Linked DNA regions of Homo sapiens: region 1 is linked to region 2. Evidence: promoter capture Hi-C in human tissues and cell types (Jung and others, 2019). All regions are on one chromosome and are shown on one strand. Each heading gives the region's core, a stretch centred on a gene start or on the middle of the fragment in contact. The rest is flanking DNA. Distances are from core to core; before and after follow the strand shown.

Evidence for each region. Contacts are between HindIII fragments. The study calls those that stand out against the background at their distance.
Region 1: a contact is called between a fragment that was not itself captured here and the fragment with the promoter of METTL2A in region 2, in 1 of the 25 tissues and cell types used here (hippocampus).

Annotation. Positions count from the first base shown.
Region 1 is chr17:62,476,864-62,482,764 of GRCh38, reverse strand. It overlaps TLK2 (tousled like kinase 2), which reads right to left and starts at 3,940. Exons shown (of 22, transcript NM_006852.6): 1 at 3,475-3,940; 2 at 1,559-1,644. The coding sequence starts at 1,639. RefSeq lists silencers at 3,176-3,565, 4,056-4,355, 4,536-4,675, 4,786-4,835. The HindIII fragment of the contact is 7,438 bases long and covers 1-5,074 here.
Region 2 is chr17:62,422,498-62,427,859 of GRCh38, reverse strand. It overlaps METTL2A (methyltransferase 2A, tRNA N3-cytidine), which reads right to left and starts at 3,963. Exons shown (of 9, transcript NM_181725.4): 1 at 3,848-3,963; 2 at 3,550-3,641; 3 at 1,206-1,561; 4 at 23-72. The coding sequence starts at 3,957. RefSeq lists enhancers at 3,579-3,948, 3,700-4,230. The HindIII fragment of the contact is 20,157 bases long and covers 1-5,362 here.

The DNA of each region.
Region 1 (5,901 bases), core at 106-2,605, 58 kb before region 2:
AAACTATCAAGCTGGTTGGGCGTGGTGGCTCATGCCTGTAATCCTAGCACTTTGGAACACCAAGACAGGCAGATCACTGGAGGTCAGGAGTTCGAGACCCAGCCTGGCCAACATGGAGAAACCCTGTCTCTACTAAAAATAAAAAAAATTAACCAGGCATGGTGGTGCATGCCTGTAATCCCAGCTACTCAGGATGCTGAGGCAAGAGAATCGCTTGAACCCAGGAGGCAGAGGTTGCAGTGAGCCCAGATTGTGCCACTGCACTCCAGCCTGGGTGACAGAGCAAGGCTCTGACTCAAAAAAAAAAAAAACAAAACCCTATCAAGCTATCCCGGCTCACCAAAACTGTGAGACCCATCAAAGAAGCCCATTTTTCCAACTAAACCTCAACACGCCTTCTCCTTGGAGAAGCTACTAACTAAAGCACGAGATCAACACCCAGGTTACCATGAGACAGGATTTCTTGAAAAGCACAGAAACAAATGTTGTATCACACTGGTTAAAGATCAAAAGCTCAGCCAGGCACAGTGGCTCCTGCCTGTGATCCCAGCACTTTGGGAGGCTGAGGCAGGTGGATCACCTGAGGTCAGGAGTTCGAGACCAGCCTGGCCAACATGGTGAAACCCCATCTCTACTAAAAATACAAAAATCAGCTGGGCGTGGTGGCGGGCACCTGTAATCCCAGCTACTCAGGAGGCTGAGGCAGGAGAATCATCACCTGAACCCAGGAGGTGGAGGCTGCAGTGAGCCGAGATCACGCCATTGCACTCCAGCCTCGGCGACAAGAGGAAAACTCTGTCTCAAAAAAAAAAATTCAGTAGCTCATACGTTCACACATCTCAAGCCCAAGTAATATGATCTTGGACCAATAAAGCTTTTAAATAAAATATCGTAAATATACTTTGCATACTGTATTAAAATCAAACATTTTACACATTGTAAAATCATCCTATGAGAGCAGAGGGGTGGACCAGTGGGTACATAAACATGCATAGGAAACTATAACATTGCTTAACTTCATACGTGCCCGTTAATGGGGGCCTAATCTAATATTATGCTCCTGCAACAAAAATAAAAACTAAGAAGGAAGAATGAGAAGAGCAACAAACCAGTCTGGGGGTGCAACCAGTAAAGAGTCTGCAGACTTCACAGAGGCCAATTTTTCAATACTCTACCATGTAACTACCTCCAAAGTCCAATGTAACAAAGCTATGCAATGCCTTGTAATTTTCTTTCTGAATGGCTGACAAGTTTTAACAAAATATGGCATAGAATCTATACACACATCCTGTTAGTTTCCTTGTAACAAGAACCATGAGAAACCTCTCCTATACCAGAAAGGAAGAAGAAACATATATTCCCATATAGAACATTTTCAAACCTACTATGTTAAATGACTACTGGAATGACCAGTAGGATCTAAAAGTTCACTGAAATTAAGACCCAAATCTTCTCCCCTGCAAACTATCAGAAGGGCCTACCCAAATTGCTCTTAATCATTTAAAAAATGTGTTTAAATTAGAATATGAATAGTGTTCATGATCATCATTTTACTCACCTTACTAACACCTACTCCAGTAAACCTGGCCTCCAATAATTCCTGCCGTCGTGGGTCCAGGCTATGCAATTCTTCCATCATTTCTGCTGAAAAAGAAAAAGTAGGCTGTGAAACCATAAACACTAAAATGTGAGGAGGCAATTTTCTGTAGAACAAAACTCACAGTAATTATTTCACTGAAAGATCAAATGCAGGTAAATCTCAAGTAAATATAGCATACAAGTGGTAGACTACTATGTGCTGCATCAAACAGTAATATATTGAAAAGTTTTAAAGCAGCTCAGAAGTCCTCTTCTATGACAGCCACTTTTTCTTCCCTAGTTCTGATTTGATTTTAACAGCAAAAATAAACCCCTCAAACCCTTCATATAATTTCTGTAAAAGTTGAGCACAGGGGAAAGAACAAAACAAGAACTAGCCTGCAAAAAGAAAATTCCTTCTATCAGCCTTAATCTAGCTAAGTATCTTCAGATATTTATTTCCCACTCAGGAAGTAGTCCTTAAACTAAAAATATGAATCATTGACAATAATTTCAAAAGAATATAGGATGAATCAGAAGCTACAAATAACTGCAAAATCACTATTATACAGCTCCTGTCTCTGAAGAGCTCACAGTAGCTCATGAGAAAAGGAATTATTTTAAATTTAATAGAGAGCCCACGGTAAAACCATCCACCTCCATTCACTCAGTAAATTAATATAGCTCCATAACAATCCCTTTAAAAAATCTTTTTCTGACCACTCCCTGCAGTAGTTTTCTCTTGATTCTGGACATCTGCTTTTAGCCCTTCTTCCAAGCAGGGAGGGGCAGGAGGACACCATTTTTAAACTTCCATAACCAATTAATGCACAGGCTACTTTCAGCAAATATGTTCATCCTTTGCAAGAGACCAACTCCTACACGACCCATTTAAAACCTCTCTTTAATATTAACAGTGGAAAAGAAACATATTACATAGAACCCCTTCGAACACATTATTAAGTAGTTGGAATGGTTGGTGTGATTTTAAAGTTACTGAAAAGATGAATCGAACATTCTCCTCTGCAATCCAACAACTCTACAATCTCCAGTAACAACCCCCTTACAAGTCCTTCAGTTTCATTTCCCTTCCTGGATTGAGAGCCTGGGGCAAAGGGGAATGAAAAGGTGACAAATTAAAGTTTCACCCACACATGCAAGTGCAGGTTAGAGAGAGAATTAGGAAATTCTCAGAAAGGTTGAAATGCATCTTTACAAAAAGAAAAAGAAGGAAAAAAAAGAGACTGGGAGAATGAGTTTCCCCCGTGGCCTTCCTCGCGTCTTGCCCTGCCCTAATCGAGGTCGGAATGGCAAAGGTTGCAGTCTCTCCCAAACCCCAAGGTCTCTCGCAACACTTCCCAAACCTCCATCCCCAGGCCCGGCCCGGAAAATGACGCCCCGGCGGTTATTCCGTTTAATGTCAACTCATGTTAAGGAAATAGCCACTCCGTCTAATTCCAGCGGGGCCTTGGACTGGGATCCTCCCTGCAGCCCACAGCCGGGAAGCAGGAGCGATGGGGCCTGGTCCCGGCGCCCCTCGCCGGCTCCAAACTTTCCCCAACTCCAGGCCCACCTGTCACGGAGGAAGGGAGGGCCGGCTCTCGGGGGCGCCCGGGAGGCTGCCGAGGCCTCCAGCTGCCTGGGGGCCCCCGTCTCTCCTCCGGCCGCCGGCCCCAATCCCAGGCCGGGGCCGCCTGGGCCTCCCCCATCTTCTGCCCGGCCCCTCAGCGACCCGCAGCCCTCAGGGAGCCCCTCCCGCCTCAGCGCCCAGGAGCTGCGGTCCGGAGCCGGCCCCGAGCTGGGCCCAGGTCGCAGGCTCCTCAGGCCAAAGGGGTCCCCAGGACGGTTAATGCCCCAGGCCTGGAGTCCTCCCCCGCCCGGGGCTCAGCCTCTCACCTGCCGCCGCCGCCGCCGCCGCTCCACGCTCCTCCCGGGAGGGGCCCCGACCCGACCCGGCTGCGGACCGCTCCGCTCTCCCCCTGGGCAGGCCCGGGGCGGAGCCGGGGCCTCTCCTGAGCGCCGCAACCCCCCGCCCGGGCAGCCGCCGCCGGCGCCGGGCTCCACGAGAGGGCGGGCGGGGGAGGGGGGGCACGAAGGCCGCAGATCCCCGGGCTCGCGTACAGAGCCAGGCGCCCGACGCGGGCCCGGGCCCGGGCGGCCGCGGGGGGCGCGGGACCGGCCTCCTGGCGCCGGACAAAGGCCAAGGGAGGCGCAGGAGGGCCCAGGCCGGGCCAGGAGGTGGGGGCCCGCTCGGCTGGGGGCCACTCGGGTGCGGCGCGGAGGGCGGGGGGGTCGGAACCGCTGGTGCCCAGGACCCGCCTCCGGCCCCTTAATCCGGATCGGTTCGGTCCGGATTAGTAGTGATCGGTGTAAACACACTAGTGAAACCGCGTGTTTCCTCGCGAGATTTGCACGGCTGGGAGGCGGGGGGGGTCCTGGGGGGGTGGGGGAAGCGCCGACAGTGGGGGAGCAGGGGGAGGGGACGAGGAAGGTGGGGGGGGGTCCCCGCTGCCCCGGCGCCCCGCCTTCTCCAATCAGCGGCCGCGCTGCCGGGCAGGGGTTAACCAGGGGACCCCGCGCCGGCGGAGGAAGCCGCGCCTCGCCGGACGGCTGAGGGCGGGCGACGGGCGGCGCCGGCTGACGGGCCGCAACGCGAGGGGAGGTCCGGCGGCCCGGGGCGCCCTGCGACTGCCCGAGGCCGGAGGCCCGGAGGACCCGCCGCCGCCTTTGTGTCGCCGGCCCCCGCCCCGCTGGACTGGCCCGGGCCGGGGCGGTTGGGCCGGCGCTGAAGGGGCTTGGCCGCCCGGGTCCACCCGTTCCCGGATCCGCCTCGCCGGCCCCCGCGCCCGCCCAACCCCTGCCCAGCCCCTCGGCTCCGCGAGTTTGGGTGAGAAGTGCGGCGGCTTTTCCCAGGGATGGAGTTTAGAGGACGCTAATCCTATGTGTGAGCGGCGGACCCCGCCCGGACTTCCCGGAGGCGCCCGGTTAGTGAGGCGACGGCGCCCACCCGCGTTCGCGGGCTCCCGGCCGCCACTCCCCGGAGCCGCCGGCCCGCCCCAGCCCCGCGCGTCGCCCGGGAGGGCGGGCTGCACTCCCTCCACGTACCTGGCTGGCAGAGCGTCTCCAGGGACAAAAGGTGCCCTGGGATCAAAGCCGAGCCCCCGCCCCCGCGGGGATGCTGCCCTCCGGAAGGAGGGGCGCTGCCCCCAAGGTACTCTCCCCGGGCACCCAGGGGGAGGTTCCATTTCAACCTCCGATGAAAAACACGGCCCTCCCGGGTACTTAGGAGGGTCTGAGGGTAAGTGCCAAGATGGAGAAAACACGCCGGCCCCTCACAGAGTATCTCCTGAGGAATGAGAACTATCTAGCGGGCAAGGAGGGCTTCCTGCATAGCAGAGGGCACCCCCTCTGATCCCCCAAGGCCAAGGGAAAAAAATCACTCTTCACCGGCGCCCCTGAGCCAGGACAGGCTCCAGTGCAGCCACCCACCTTATAATTTTCCGCGGATGCTGCCTTGATCAGATGTCTGAAGATGACTTTAAGGACTACAAGCAAATCTCAAGGGAAAAATTCAGACCTTGAACAACAGCCTTGAACTTTTTCAGGGTTAGACAAGTACTCCCCAGTGGAGTTTCTGCCCTTATTTCTTCGTTCTTCTCTTAATTCTTCCATATTTTAACAGAACACAGACCTGCCGAAACGACACAGGATGGCTCTTTGCTTTTTGTTAGTTCTCCAACCTTCCAAACCCTTGGGGCACATGCAAGCACTGTGGAAAAACTTCATTAAACCAAGAGTCATCTTACTCCAGATCCCAGACTGCTTGGGAAGTTGGACATGCATATTCCCAAAGAGAACAGTGTTGGAAGAAGACAGGAGAGCAGCTCGCGGGTTGGGGGTAGAGGGTAGGAAAAGAGGGCAAGATGGAGGACTACCACTCGAGGCCAGCCTCCACTGCCTGTTAGGGCGGTAGAACCTAAGAGCCGGTCCAAGGCAACACAAAAGACAGTGAGGCTAGGTCTTTAATTGCAGCCAACGATCAAGAAAGCAACTCCATCAAATGACACTGTCTTTTTAAAAAAAATTTTTTTTTTTTGAGACAGAGTCTCGCTCTGTCGCCCAGGCTGGAGTGCAGTGGTGCGATCTTGGCTCACTGCAACCTCTGCCACCCGGGTTCAAGCAGTTCTCCCTGCCTCAGCCTCCTGAGTAGCCGGGATTACAGGCACGCGCTACCAGGCCCGGCTAATTTTTTTTTTTTTTCTTTTTTGGTAGAATCGAGGTTTTGCCATGTTGGCCACGTTGGTCTCGAATTCCTGACCTCAG
Region 2 (5,362 bases), core at 2,714-5,213:
TAAACTTTTACAACATACTTACTTGTTCGTTTGTAAAATTGGAAAGACTGTGTTTCCCACACCACAGCCAACCTGCAGACAGAAATGAACTATTAATCACAGAACTTTCCAGAGTTAATTCCCTAAAGCTAGAAAAGCTAGAAAAATAATAATCAACAAGAATCTGGCCTAACTGTATTAGGGAAGGTGTAGTGACCAGAGCTAAACAGTACTCATGACATTTGTTGATTTTGATGTTGACTTCAGGAACCCTTAAAAGACAAGAGCACGGGTTTTTATTAGCAGAAACGAGGTGGTCTAGAAAAAAGGGCAAGGATTGCTTTTATCTTTTGAGTTCTAGCAAATGGTCCTGTAGATGAAGTATTTTCTTACTGAGCTTATATTATTATTGTGAAAATATTTGTAATAGACTGTGCTGAAAAATGTATGAAAAGGGGACCCTGACAACCTTGTCCTAAACACAGTGCTGCGTGGTAATGAAGACAGCAACTATTTATTAAGGGCTTAACTATGTGCCAGATACTGTTCTTAGCCCTTTTACATACATTATCTCCATCCTCATAACTATAAAGTGCAGAGGCAGCAGTCTCACTGCTCAGAGAGGGTAAGGAAATTGTCTAAGATCACACCATAGGACTCAATCCCAAGGCTGACCAGTTCCAGAACCAGCTTCCAGTAACGTGCGCAGTCCCCATTTATGAATTTACATTATACCAATCTAGACATTTTTCCAGGTCTAGACTCTGCAACACCATCCAAATGCAGAGGAAGAGAATTATCCCAGGCCTAAGAAACAGGCACCATCCTAACTACCCTCTCCATTCCTGTAACTGTATTAGAAGAGAAGCAACAATTTCTTCTGATCTGGGACTTTTTTCCAGAGTTATAGCATGATCATGTTGAGCTCCTTCACCTGTATGATGCAGTGGCATGTGACAGGTACAGCATGATGCCATTAATACAATTTTTGGAAGTGACATGCTATTCTCGTGTGATCTTTGTCCGTCATGACTACCAGATATCTGGTCTGCATTGAGGGCATTTTATCAGTTCAAAAATGGAGGTGATTCCAGGCTAATATAAGGGTCAAGTCTAGTCAGCATCATCCAATAGAAGTTACTTTTGTTGTCAGCCTCTCTATGCTACCTCATGTGCACAAATATAATAGCTTCACATATCCCACTACCAAGACAATAAAAGGTTACCTCCAGTATTCGGTAGGTGGCTGAGGATCCAGGAAACTCATCAGCACAAATTTCCAGGTCACTAATTTTCTGAGTTACATTCTCCTCCACAGGAAGTGTCTGTGTTTTATGTTCAAGGCTCTTTGAAGAACACTTGTGCTGTTCTTCCATTATTAAACCAGGTCCATCCTCATTGTTTCTACATTCAGGTACTTCACTCTTGTTCTCCAAGAACCAGTCCTTCAAATGATTTTGATTTTGGCTAGGTGCCAGCTCAGGGAATTCGGTAAAAAGCCAATGTCTATCCTTGAAAAACCCATTTTCGTGGATTTTGTAGAAGTCATTCCAGTATTTGTGGGCATTGATCTCATAATCAACTGTAAATATTTAAGAAAAAATTTTAAGAACCAGCTCTCAAATGTTTTATTTATATCTAATATCAATTATCCTGCTTTACCAAATGTCACTTTAATACTAAAAGTATCCTCAGGTAGAGCCACAGTCCCAGAACTGAAGGCATTTCTGAGGTCATTTAGTCCTGCCATCTGGCATTATACCCTAATGCCCCTATCCGTCATTATAGGAGAGTCTAAATTCTGTTTGAACAATCAACCAGAGAACTTACTATCTATCAAGTGTCCTCCTACATCTTTGGATGCCTTTTTTTTTTTTTTTGAGACAGAGTCTCGCTCTGTCACCCAGGCTGGAGTGCAGGGGCGCAATCTTGGCTCACTGCAAGCTCCACCTCCCGGGTTCATGCCATTCTCCTGCCTCATCCTACTGAGTAGCTGGGACTACAGGCGCCTGCCACCACGCCCGGCTAATTTTTTGTATTTTTTAGTACAGACGGGGTTTCACCGTGTTAGCCAGGATGGTCTCGATCTCCTGACCTCGTGATCCACCCGCCTCGGCCTCCCAAAGTGCTGGGATTACAGGCATGAGTCATCGCGCCCAGCCAGATGACTTTTAACTATTAAAAAATCCTAGAAGTAGCCAGGTGCAGTGGCTCATGCCTGTAATCCCAGCACTTTGGGAGGCTGAGGTGGGCGGATCACGAGGTCAGGAGATCGAGACCATCCTGGCCAGCACGGTGAAACCCCGTCTGTACTAAAATACAAAAAATTAGCCAGGCGTGGTGGTGCACACCTGTAGTCCCAGCTACTAGGGAGGCTGAGGCAGGGGAATCGCTTGAACCAGGGAGGAGGAGATTGCAGCGAGCTGAGATCGTGCCACTGCACTCCAGCCTGGTGACAGAGCGAGACTCCATCTCCAAAAAAAAAAAAAAAGTATGGACAGTTTAAATGAAGGCTGTTTTTAAGGTGATCATGACAGTCCCAGATTTCAGTTTACTGCTCTTGCCAATTCAGGGGGCCTTGACTAGTGTAGTAGAAAGAATAAAAACCTAACAAATTGAGCAGGACAGTGACAATGGAAGTTGGAATCCACTAAGAAGTGTGTTAACAACTCACAACTCACCTGCTGAATCAACCAAGACTCCCTAAGAAACAGGATTTTAGTTCCACTACTGCTACTACTGACTGCTTACCTCTGGGAAAAGCACTTAATGTCCTGTGGTCCAAGTGTCTTTAACTATAAAAAGAGAATATTGAACCACATGATTTTCAAAATCCCTTTCAACTATTAACTTGCTTTGATCTAGTTGCTGTCAAAATATGCAGGGTGAATGTTTTGTAACTGGAATCTTTTTGTTGTACAGAACTCTTTCAGCGGGTACTAAATTTGTAGTCCTATCTTCAATTGTCTGGAACAATCAGTCCTAGTTTTACTATCTAGGGATATTTTGCAGTGAAATCATCCACCTCTCAAGCAGGGGCCTCCTTTTCTTTGGCCAGACTTATCTCCACTCTGCTGCATCCACCTTTCCTTGACTAAAGCCCTAAATTCTCATAACCATCACACAAGTAATAGACACACAGTCACCAGTCACTAGCCCCCCTCCCAACAATATTTAGAATCTAATCACTTCAATGAAGCTTCAATGGAAAACATCTCCTCATGGAAAATGCAAATCAAGTAAAAAGTACAGGTTCTAAGATGATCGCGTGACCACACAGTTGTCATTGGCTAGCCATATCAACGTGGATCTACTAAACATAATTAAAGACAACATTACCCTCCTCCAAAGTAAAACTATATATAAAAAAACCCTCTACGACTTAAGATTTTGTTACAATGCAGCCCTTTTCTCTCCTTGCTCATCCCCTCCCTGTCCCGCTCTACTCCTGAGATCTGCATCAGGCCAGGAATAAAGGATCTGGGCGGCCGCGGTTCCCTGGCCTCTCCGGGAGGGCGCGTTCGGCAGTACGCTGGCTGTTGATACCAATGAGAGCCCATTTAAGCGCACCTTGTTTCTCCTGGCACACCCGCTGGATACTGTTCTCCTGGACTTTTCTCTCCGCCGCCGCGGCTTGCTCTTCCGACCACTCCACATTGTCCCTGAGAAAATCAAACGGGCAGCTTAGGGGCCTCACGTCCTGGCTGCGGGCAGGGTGAGTCGCTGGCCTAGGAGTTTCTCTCCCCTTGGAGAGTGCCTCGGGTAGGGCAGCTTGACTCGTGGCCGGCGGTCAGGGGCTTTTCGGAGTGCTCCGAGGCGGCGGGACAGAGGGTCAGCGACAGGCCGGGCGAAGGGGCAGAGTGATTACCAGGCATTGTGGTGGAAGACGCGCGCCGGATCTCTCAGGAACCGGCTTCCGAACTGCTGCCTCTTATCGGCGAGGACTGCAGGTGCACCTTCAGGGTAGGAGCCGGCCATGACACCGGAGCCGGAAACACTTTACTTTCCGTAACGTGAGAACTTCCTGCGGACCACGCCCTCTTTCAGAAGACGCGGAGTCTGGGCGGGAAAAAGGGTGGCGGGACAGGGCGGCACTGGAGTCTGGTCCGGGTGGCGCTCGGGAGCTGTCGTTTGGGGCTGTCCCAGGGTTGGCGAAGGGCTCTCTAGGAGAGGGGACCAGGCAGGGGGAAATTCTCCCCGGAGGAGTCGTTTCTCATTGATGAGGTGCTGATGGACGTGCAGGTTAGGCAGAAAGTGGGAGACATTCCACTTGAGACCCAGTTCAATGCTGGGATCCTCTTAACAGGTTCCCCAGCTTCCCTCAAGTTATAAAACAGGAAAAATCTTGAATCATTATAAGAGTTGAGGCTACCTAGTTCCACTGCGGAGCCGATGTCCAGAACTGAAGAAGGTAGCAAGCAGCGGGAAGAAACAGGGCAATTTCCAGCTTCTATATTCAGCTCTTAATAGTGTGGGTGTATATGTATACACAGTGTGTATATATATTTTGGTTGGGGTAGGGGGAGATGGAGATATGAAATTAGAGAACACGAGGCTTAGCAAATCAAATGGAATATCCAAGGACAATTTTTTTTTAAATTATAACCATCTAACCTTTTTGAATCATGCATATTTATTATAATTATCCTTATTAGCACAATTAAGATTGTAATACACACATACAAACAGTTTGTCATAGTAATACATTTCAGCCTTACATTTCTATTTCTAGATCTAACACAAATAGACTCTCAAAAGAATCTAGAAGAAAGTATGTTATAGACATAAGGTTATTTGAGAAGACTTCCAAGAGAAGCATGATGAATACCACTTGGAAAAGAAGGAAAGGGCAGAGACCAAACAAGGACCAGCCCAATACCTCTTGGACTTTATTTAATGTCATAATGTCAGAATAAAGGGAAAGATGAATTTTTTTAAAAAAGGAAAGGGTTAGTGCAGTGCTAGACATAGCACATGGGTAATTAGTACTTTTTTTTTTTTTTGAGACGGAGTCTTGCTCTGTTTCCCAGGCTAGAGTGCAGTAGCCGGATCTCAGCTCGTTATAACCTCCATGTTCTGGGCTCAGGTGGTTCTCCTGCCTCAGCCTCCTGAGTAGCCGGGATTACAGGTGCGCGCTACCACACTCAGCTAATTTTTGTATTTTTAGTAGAGATGGGGTTTCACCATGTTGCCTGGGCTGGTCCCAAACTCCTGACCTCAAATGATCTGCCCGCCTCGGTCTCCCAAAGTGTTGGGATTACAGGCGTGAGCCACCGCGCCCAGCCAGTAATTGTTTATTCCATTGTAAATTCTTTCTGTAGGTAAAACTACGGGGAGCAATGAATGATTCTATACTTTTTCCTCCAAAGAAATGGGAACAAGC